Linked DNA regions of Homo sapiens: all the other regions are linked to region 3. The links are contacts of gene promoters, found by promoter capture Hi-C in blood cells and fetal thymus (Javierre and others, 2016). All regions are on one chromosome and are shown on one strand. Each heading gives the region's core, a stretch centred on a gene start or on the middle of the fragment in contact. The rest is flanking DNA. Distances are from core to core; before and after follow the strand shown.

Region 1 (3,287 bases), core at 692-3,191, 2.1 Mb before region 3:
TGTAGTCCCAGCTATAAGGAGGCTGAGGTGGGAAAATCACTTGAGCCCAGGAGGTTGAGGCTGCAGTGACTCGTGATCACGCCACTGCATGCCACTGCACTGCACTCTAGCCTGGGTGACAGAACGAGACTCTGTCTCAAAACAAACAAACAAACAAACAAGCCTGTAGGAGTCATGTCTTTCAGAAAGCCTTCCAGATTTACTTTTGTGGCCTTCCACTGAGTGCCTGGTTTGTATGTTAAATATTTGTAAGATTTGACCCAGGTTTTGTCTGCCCCCAAGGTTGTCCTCTTGTCACCAATATCACTTTTTATCCATCCACCAATGTCTGGACAACAAGTGAAGTACTAAAGTGCTAACATTGTAAAAGAGACAAGTTAGTTACAGAGGGCTCCCAAGGCTGTCACATACAGTTGTGCAGATTGTGCCCTATGGTTAAATTTATCAAAGCATTTTTGACATTGTTTCATAAGTAGTTTATTTCTCTATTACCACCTTCAATACCCTGAGCAACTTGAAGACAAACGCTTTTTAATTTGACTTTCTGTCCTCAGCACCCAGTACAGTATTTGGCACCCAGCATGCGCCAAGTAAAAGCCCAAAGACCAAAGGACTAGTCATCTTCTGAGCTCCTGGCACCATGCTAAGAGATAGAAAAGCCATCATCTATATCTTTAAAGACGTTTCAATGTAGCTGATGGGAATAAGTCATATCCATGTGAACAGAGAACCAGAATATCAGGTGGTAAATATTAATGGCAAATGAATGGTGCCAAATCTAAGTGCTACTGATCAGAAAAGTGGGAAATTCCAAGGGCTGAGGCAGGCAGGGAAAGCTTCATGGAAGAGGCAAGATTGGAACCAAGCCTTGCATCTTGTACCTATTCCCAGTGATTACATTACATGTATGAAGCTGTTTTTGGGAAATAGTGTAGTAGAGTAGAATTTGAAATTATAATTATGTAGTACGGGGGGATTTGGAATTCACACAGACTTAGATCGCATTCTACTTTTCCCATCCTCTTGCTGTGTCTGCTGGGTCTCTTTCTGAACACAAATTTCTTCATCTTTAGGTTGTGGATTAGAACCTCTATCTTTCAAAATTGCTGCGAAAATTAAGATTAACTAATGAACCTGAAAGAGAAAAGTCTGGTTCTCAGCACATGGCAGGAATGCAATAAAGGTTCACCCTCATTTTAATTAGACTCCAGGGTTAGATTTCTTAGTTTATTGACCAAATTCTTATCTATGGAAGGCTTTTCTGAAGCATTATTAGGAGTTGGAATTCACTGGAGTCCTCCCTCTGACTCGAACAAATGGCCCATACAAACTACCTCATGTAGAACAGGGATCCAGGAGATCACAAGAGAAATAGACCCTCAACCTTGATGCTTCTCAAAGGTCTGAGACGGTCCTATTTCTCATGAGACAGGCTTTTAAAGGAGCATGAACCACCTTCCATGCTGATTTACCTGGTGTCATGTATCATGGCAAATGGCTGGGTTTGGAGCAGATAATTGCATTGGTGAAAGTATTTTTGTTAATCTTGGTAATATCAAAACATATCCCTATACTCTTTCATACTTTCCAAAGTCAAGTCTCAATTTTTTAATTTTTAAAAATGTCATAGCAACACAATATATAAGATTCCTAATTTTCACACAAGGAAACTGAGGTCCGCAAAGGTTGAATGACTCACTCAAATTTCCATAGTAAAGTAGAGGATTTGGGTGCCTTGAGTGACAGTTCCACATTTCTAGACTGAATTCCAAGTTCTCTTTGGCAGTGGTGTACCAAGGATGGGGGTGTTGGTGGGAGTGGGCTTCCCTAAAGAGGAGTCATTTTATTATTGTCATTGTTTAGAATTGCCACTACATGGTTATAATAAGATAAAGACCAACTTTTAGCCAAGCATTATCACTGTTTTAAAATTATATGTAGACAATACCTCCCTTTATTGCCTACACCAGAGGCTGAAGGTTCTCACCACCCATCCAGGGTACGCCACTACTCTGGTTCCATTAAAAAAGAAAGATTACATTTGAATGGAGGGATTTTGGTTTCTAAGCAGGGGGGACTTGAGGCCAAGAGAAAGTGGGAGTGATATATTTGTGGCTACTTGTATTGTGGCTCTAACTTCTCTTGACTCAAGGAACCAAGAATGTACCCAGCACAAGATTTTTGTTTGTTTGTTTTTTTGAGATGGAGTCTTGCTCTGTCACCAGGCTGGAGTACAGTGGCACGATCTCGGCTCACTGCAATCTCCGCCTCCCAGGTTCAAGTGATTCTCCTGCCTCAGCCTCCCAAGTAGCTGGGATTACAGGCACATGCCACCACACCGAGCTAATTTTGTATTTTTAGTAGAGACGGGGTTTCACCATGTTGGCCAGGATGCTCTCGATCTCCTGACCTCGTGATCCACCCACCTTGGCCTCCCAAAGTGCTGGGATTACAAGCATGAGCTACAGCACCCTGCCCCAGCACAAGATTAATAATTACAGCAACATTAGTTACCACACTTACAGTTTACAATGTGTAAACCTGCTAAAAGCGTGTACTCTATAAGGCAAGTATTAGTATTTCAATTGCACAGATGAAGATGAAGCTGAAGCTGAGAAAGATTGATTCATGTGTCCCAGGTCACAATAACAGAGGAGGAAATGTAAGATGTGACAGGTTTGACCTGGCTCCTATTCCTGCACTCTTGCCACTACCCCCATGTTCTATCTGTTCACCGATGTTCAAACAGCCACCAAAGTACTAAAAATGCTAACATTGCAGAGGAGGCACATCACAGGGGCTCCCAGGGCCACTGCTTGAGGAGGGTGCACCCTGCACAAAGGTGCTGGGCTGAAGAGGCAAGCAGGGCTGAAATAAGCCTTAGCTTGGTTGTTTTGTAATTTGCACAAAGGAGCCGTATGGGCTGGTAATGGCATGGAACCACCGGTGGCCACAGCTTAAGGAATTCCATCAGCCTCTTGATTTCTGTTTTCTGTCTATCCTTTGAGCACTATTTGCCAATTTCCTGGAAGTGGCTCTGCCTCAAGAAAGCTTCCTGGCTCTTAAATGTAGAGTTTACAATCCTCTGAGGCCAGTGTGAAATGCCCAGTTGTCCTGACTGTTGTCAGGAACATGACCAGCATTCCCTCAGAAGCTCATCATTCTGAAAATTAGACACAGACCACTTATTAATATGTATGGCAAATCTGGGATCCTCCTTAGTGAGTGTAGCTACAATAAAAAGGTCAATATGAAGGCCTGGGATTTGAGAGATGAAACAACCTGTA
Region 2 (3,288 bases), core at 569-3,068, 2.2 Mb before region 3:
GATATAGTCACATAAGTAACCTTAGAAGACCATTTCAGACAGAGGGAAGAGCAATCGCAAAGACCCTAAAAGGTGTGTCAGAGAAGCAAGGAGACAGATTGCCACAGTAGGCAGATCAGGGAGGGAAGTGTTTCCAGAGACAGGATAAGAAAGATGGTGAGAGGACAGATCATCCAGGCCTAGAGGTCACAGTCAGCCCTGTGATAAGGAAAACAGCAAAGTTTAGAGTCCTTTGAGCAGAGGCACAACATGACCTGACTTTACGTTGGCTGCTGTACTGAGACTGTGGTGCCAAGTAACCAGAAGCAGGGAGATCAGCCTGTGCAATTCTCAAGGGAAACATGATGATGGCGTGAGCCAGTAGAGTCACCACACAAGTGGTCAGATCTTGGATATATTTCTGAAGTACAGCCAGTAGGATGTGGGGTAGCAGAAAGGAGTCAAGAATGACTCTGCAATAGAGAAATGAAGATGGAGAAGATTACTGAAAGTGCAGGTTTTGGGGTGGAAATCGGGAGTATGGCTTTCAGACATGGTAAGTTTGAAATGCTTATTGGGCATCTAAGTGAAAAATATATATTAAGTATATTATATTATAGAGTTCAGAAGAAAAAGGCAACCTACAAACACAGTTTCAGTCATCAATGTATGATCTGTAAAGCCATGCAATCAGATGAGTTCACCTAGGGAGAAGTGCATACCAAGAAGAGTTCTGGAGCACTGGTACAGTCAGCTGTGAGGAGGAAGAAGCAAAAGATACCAAAAACGAACACCTAGAGAATTAGGAAAATGAGAAGAGTGAGGTCCTTGGGCCAAGTGAAAAAGTGTTTCAGGAAGAATGAAAGGATCAAGGGCAAATACTGCCAGTAAGTAAAATTAGTGAAGAGTAATGACTTTGAGTCAATTGAGTTAAGCGAAGTGAGGCTTGCTGATGCCTTGATAAGAGCTGTTTTGGTATGTGGTGAAATTATAAAGTCTAACTGGAGAAGGTTCAAGAAAGAAGGTAGAAAGAAATTAGAGAAACAGACAACTCCTTTGAGTTTTTCCTGAAAAGGGAAGCAGAGAAAAGTGACAGTAGCAGGTAAATGGCTTTTTAGGACAGAGTTCAGGTGGAAAAAAAACAAGGATAAGAAAGAATAGGGTATGGGTGCTCTAGAAACGTCAGGCAGTCAATGAAACAAAGTACGGAACAAGGAGATAAAGAAAGGGAGTAGGAGTCTAAGAGGGGAGGACGTGGTAGGCAGTTCTGGTGAAATGTAGACTCTCGCTAGCCTGTTGAGAGCACAGGTTTTGACACTAGGAAGGAGTCACCATTTTCGGGCAGCCAAAGGCCATCATTACATGAAGCTGTTACTACCAGTTTCCTCTAAAGCGCCAAGTCACAACTACCTCTTCCTTTTGCTATTCGTCCCTGGGATTTACCTCATACTGGCTTATATTACAATTAATAGTATGTTGAGGGAGGATACAATATTAGTCTAGCAGAGCCAAAAGTAGAAAGGAATATAAGTAATGAGATGTTGGTGACAGGGGACAAGGAGAAGATAATAGGACACAGGTTCACAAACAATGTTAAGCAGAAAGTCTAAACAAAACATACTGACAAAGGAAAAAGTGCACAGAAAATCTAGTCAAGTATAATAGGCCTCACTGGTAAGCGGAGTTACAGGACAAAATGATTTTTTTTCATCCTAATTATACTTAAATCATTTGATAAAAAGATGTGATTTCTAAAGTCAAGTAAAAGGAAAAACACCACTAAGTTAAAATATAGGAAAAAAACATGATTAAAATTTGGTGTATTTTTATTTTATTTTTTTGAGACAGGACCTCCCTCTGTCACCTGGAGTGCAGTGGCACGATCACAGCCCACTGCAGCCTTGACTTCCAGGGCTCCAGTGATCCTCCCACCTCAGGCTCCTGAGTAGCTGGGACCACAGGCACATAGCACCATGCTCAGTTTATTTTTGTATCTTAGGTAGAAACGGCGTTTCACCACATTACCCAGGCTGGTCTTAAATGCCTGGGATCAAATGATCCACGCGATTCGGCCTCCCAAAGTGCTGGGATTACAGGTGTGAGCCACCGTGACTGGTCTAAATTTGGTGTATTTTTAATTTCTCCAAATATAAGAAGATATAAAGTGAGAAGTTATAACAGACTATGAAGAGAGCTGTGCGGAGCACCAGAAGGAGATGAAGAAAAGCCCATAAAATAGGCTGAGAAACACCTAAAGAGTATGAGAACCAAGAAAATGGTGTCATAGTAACAAAAGGAATATGAAGTTTGAAGGAAGGTGTATTTAATAGTATCTAATGCTTGAGAGAAGGTAAATATCAACCGGATTCGGCAACAAGGAAATAACTGGAGAATGCAATTAACATTTAGGAACCAAGAGTGGTAAGTCTATGAGTGAATGCAGTCTCCCCTAGGAGAGGTGTATTTTTAAAAGAAACGCAAATCAGAGACCTATCATGTTTAAAACAGAGAGAAAATTTAACAGGAAAGTTTAAGGCTCAGGAGAGGGCTGAAATAATTTTTTTAAATGGTTAATAGAGTCAGGCAAGAAAGTATGTGATTCAAGGCACAAGTAGACTAGCCTCAGACAGAAAGAATCTCTCTTGAGATGGGGGCAAGATGTACAAATGCAGGCATAATAGCAGGAGTAGTAGTTTAGTAGCTTCTATGTCCTTCTGAAAAGAAGAAACAAGACCATCTTTACAGGAAAGGAAAGCACATTTTCTGAATACTCCTTACGAGCTAGGCATCTTCCTAGGTACCTCTGTTAAGGTTATCTAGCGTAAGCCTAAATGACTGAAATGAGTCCTATGTATCTGATGCATTATAATACCCTAATAATATTTTACTATTATTTTCCACATTAAAATAATATAGCCAGTTTTTAAATTTAGCATTTGAACCATAATTCATACCGAAAAATTTCTTCAAACACAGAAAAAAATCACCCCTTCAAAATGTTTACAAGGCAGGTAAAGTTAACAGAATGTTAGACATACTCAAGACTCTTGTCAATATCCTGTCAACACCCAAAAGGATTAGAATCTAGTTTCTTCCACAACTCCAACAACTTGTGTTTCAGCTACCTGCTCCTGAAGCCAAAACATGGACTTTGTCATCCCCTAGACCTGTTCCATTCAACTTGAATTTCTCACTCTTACCACAACCTCCTATCCTTCCAGACTTATCATGCATTTAAGCATATTCTCTAACTTCACTGAGGTGGGTCTAAACACTTTCTCGTAGGCCTCTCTTTCTTTAAACTAGTTT
Region 3 (3,449 bases), core at 380-2,879:
TTATTATTCTTGTGTGTTATTGAAATGAGAAGGCAATTTTCTTTCTGGTTTAATTCCATGTAGCGTAACAAACAGGGTAAGAATCAAGTCCTTAGTGTTTAGTTAAGCCTCATACAAAAGACAAGCTGGCATCCTGTCCAGAAAACTCAAATCCACAACAGACAACTCACAACTATTCAAAAAGCTGTTCAACCAACCCCTCTGTTCTTTTCTCATCCTGATCCACTCCATACCATCAACAAGCCCAGTCGAGGCAAGACTTGGAGTAAAAACAAATGCTACACATCCAGGCACAAGCCGAAAAGATGCTTTGGGCAAGCAGACAGTAACAGGTGAAGCCGCTCACATCACAAAGAGAAAGTCAGCGAATCGTTATGTGCTTCCTGGTGAAAGTACACACACCCACCTAAAAAGTATTCTTGCCATGATATTGAATCTGAATTCAATTGGATCAAACCTCAAGGTTTAACCACCAATTCACAGCAATATGAGACAGATGACCACATTAAACGACAGAAGAGATTCAGTCAGCAAGTCCAAAACACGGAAATTCAAAGGACACAAGAATCGGTTTCCTCAACAAATAAAGAGGGGAAGGTGGAGAAGAGACTTAAAAAGACTTGATGTGTATCCTGACTTGAACTAACTGCGAAAAGGGAACCAAAGAACAAAACACCTTATTAGTCGATCAGAATGGTTCCAACACTGACGACTTGATATTAAGTAACTATGTGATGATGACATGGTGGTTCCTTCTGAAACATCCATGGATGAATACAATAGGTAAACTGATAATGCTTAAGCCAAGTGATAAACACCTAGACGTTCGTTATGCTCTCTTCCACATATTTAAACGTTTTTCACAAGTGAAAAACACCACCAAGAGCCTGCGCCGTGACACTGAGATGGGAGTCGCGGTACTGTGGCCCTACGCAGCCGTGACCCCTTCCCTTCCCAGGTCGCGGATTTCCCGCCAGCTAAAATCACGAGTGGAAAATTCCTATCTGTCCTAAGTCTCTGGGTGCGAATGAGGAACGTGGAAGGAGAGACGGCGGGGTGAGAGGCGGCGGCCCGCGCCCGAGGATCGCGCAGAGGGCTTGGTTCCCGGAAATCTCTCCGCACCGTCGCGGCAGCTGGCTCCTCACGGGTGGGCTTCTCCCCGCGTTCTCCGCCGCCCTCGTCCTAGGCCTCGCCTAGGCCTTTCTAGAAAGACGAACGTCCGCCCGCTCAGTCCTAGTGCTGGGTTATGACAAGCGCCGACCGTGAGCTCCAGAGGCAAAGATAGGAGCCCAAACAACCCCAACGTCGCCTCCACCCGGGGTCGCCGCGGCCCCAGGTCTCGCGATAGTTACCTCCCGGGACTCTCGTCGCTGGAGGCCGCGCAAGCGCACCGGCGAATGTAAGCGGAGTACAGTGCCTCGGCCTCCGCGTACTCTCCATTGTTGAAATGAGCCTGGGCGAGTGTTAGGGTTGCGTGGCTTTCTTGCCGCTGTCCTTCCATAGCAGCCAAGGCCTAGTTTTCGGTGTAGAATGGGGGTTGACCTCCGAGCGGTTAGAGGTGGCACCACAAAGCCACTTCCACACCCTGGAATCTACCTTGACAGCCAACCTTGGCGCTAGGTTTGTGCCTTATGGGGATCCGTCGTCTCGCGAGATAACGGTTCCGCTGCTGGCGGGGCGTTTGCAGTGGCCCTTGTGAACTATGTTTCTGCCGTTACCAGTGTTGGACCCGCCTTCCTCTTTTCCTAGAAAAGGCGCAGATGCGTGGTCGCAAACTGATTTCCAAGTCCGTTGTCTGATGCTGCGAGACACTATCCGTTTGTTACAGCGAATTGGGGGCCGATGACGCTGGAGGTGGAAGAAGCCGCGGTTCTGTTTCTTAATGGCGAATTAGCCTGCGGACGTCCTGTCATTCCCTTGCCTTTTAGCGTCCCAACTTAGCAAAACTCCGCGTTTAGGGTGTTCTGAGTAGGCTTTGTCTACCCTGAAACGCTTTGTGTCGACATTCCACCAGGTCTGTTCCACGGTCCAAACTTCTCTACCTTTTTTGACCCTCTAGAATTGTGTTACGATTAGTAGTATATTGTGTCGAGAGTCTGGGATCTTTGATGTTAGTTATATTCCCTGGCTGTTTATGCCAAAGGGAAATCCAAATAGTAATTTATTACGTACATTACGTATAATTCAAATTAAAATTTTGTAAGAACAGTTGCCAACCACGCTACCCTACATGCCTGCTGTGTATCTTCTCGGCGTCCCTCGATTCTGTTTTGCTTCCCAAAGTACTTGAGCCCTTTCCGTCATAAAAAGTAAAGATGAAAAATATATTTGGAGCATGATACTTACATGCGGAAGTCTTAACAGGACATAAATTGTGTGCTTTTGGCTGCTTTCATTAGATTTTTAATTTTTTCCTTTTACCACCACTGAAAAAAATACAAATACAGTGGATTAAGGTTAAATTAAAAAGCACTAGTAGAAATTAAAAGATTGCAAGACTACAAAAAAATAAACTGGCATTTCTGGTGTAAGCAAATGGACAGCTCAATAGAACAAAAGCCCAGAAACATACCTCAAATAGGCTGTATTTTGTAAAAGACATGTAACATATATGGGGAAAGGACAGATTATTCAAATGAGTGCTATTGGGAGGATTAGTTAACCATTTGGGGAAAAATACATTTAAGCATTTAAGCTCCCAATTGACATAATATTCATTCCAGGTGAATTAAAAGATTAAATAAATAAGATAAAAAGCTTTTTTTTTTCAGTTCCCATTTATTTTTGCCTCTTGGAGCAATGTCATCTTTTCAATATGAAAAAAACAAAACAAAAAACAAATCTGAAGTACAGGATAGAACAAAACCAAGTGTGTTGGGGGAAGCAACAGCAAAGGGAAGACAAGATGTTGCAAAAAAAAAAATGGAGGGGGGATTCCCCTCTCCTCTGGGGAATGACTCAAACACTGATGTGGCAGCGTACACTATTCTACATAAAGCCAGGGATGTTAATCCTTTTGGGGGATAAGAAAAAGTGGAGATGGCCAGGCTCTGTGGCTCATGCCTGTAATCCCAGCACTTTGGGAGGCCTAGGCGGGCAGATCACCTGAGGACAGGAGTTTGATAACAGCCTGGCCAACATGGCAAAACCCCGTCTCTACTAAAAATGCAAAAAATTAGCTGGGCGTGGTGGCGGGTGCCTGTAATCCCAGCTACTCATGAGGCTGAGGCACAAGAATCCCTTCTGGGTGGAAGTGGTTGGCAGTGAGCTAATTTTTGTATTTTTTGTGGTGATGGGTTTCCCCATGTTGTCCAGGCTGATCTCCAACTCCTGGGTTCAAGACATCTGCCCACCTCAGCCTCCCAAAGTGCTAGGACTACAGGCATGAGCCACCGCACCTGACTAGAAGTTTTGCTTTGTTCTGTTCAAGGAATAACAGGAATATTTAT

The links. The method cuts DNA at HindIII sites, captures the fragments that hold promoters and counts their contacts. A CHiCAGO score of 5 or more calls a contact.
Region 1: a fragment that was not itself captured here is called in contact with the fragment with the promoter of TTC32 in region 3 in 4 of 17 cell types (M1 macrophages, M2 macrophages, total B cells and 1 more); the score reaches 9.3 in M1 macrophages.
Region 2: a contact is called between a fragment that was not itself captured here and the fragment with the promoter of TTC32 in region 3, in 1 of 17 cell types (neutrophils). The highest score is 6.3, in neutrophils.

Annotation. Positions count from the first base shown.
Region 1 is chr2:17,808,954-17,812,240 of GRCh38, forward strand. No RefSeq gene overlaps it. Among named protein-coding and RNA genes, the nearest start is that of MSGN1, 5.9 kb to the right of the region's middle. The HindIII fragment of the contact is 2,215 bases long and covers 835-3,049 here.
Region 2 is chr2:17,709,822-17,713,109 of GRCh38, forward strand. All of the region lies in intron 16 of SMC6 (structural maintenance of chromosomes 6), which reads right to left. Among named protein-coding and RNA genes, the nearest start is that of SMC6, 42 kb to the right of the region's middle. The HindIII fragment of the contact is 8,646 bases long and covers 1-3,288 here.
Region 3 is chr2:19,900,354-19,903,802 of GRCh38, forward strand. It overlaps TTC32 (tetratricopeptide repeat domain 32), which reads right to left and starts at 1,630. Exons shown (of 3, transcript NM_001008237.3): 1 at 1,353-1,630. The coding sequence starts at 1,501. RefSeq lists enhancers at 591-1,472, 723-912, 1,053-1,112, 1,193-1,292, 1,473-2,353 and 1 more. The HindIII fragment of the contact is 3,134 bases long and covers 1-2,755 here.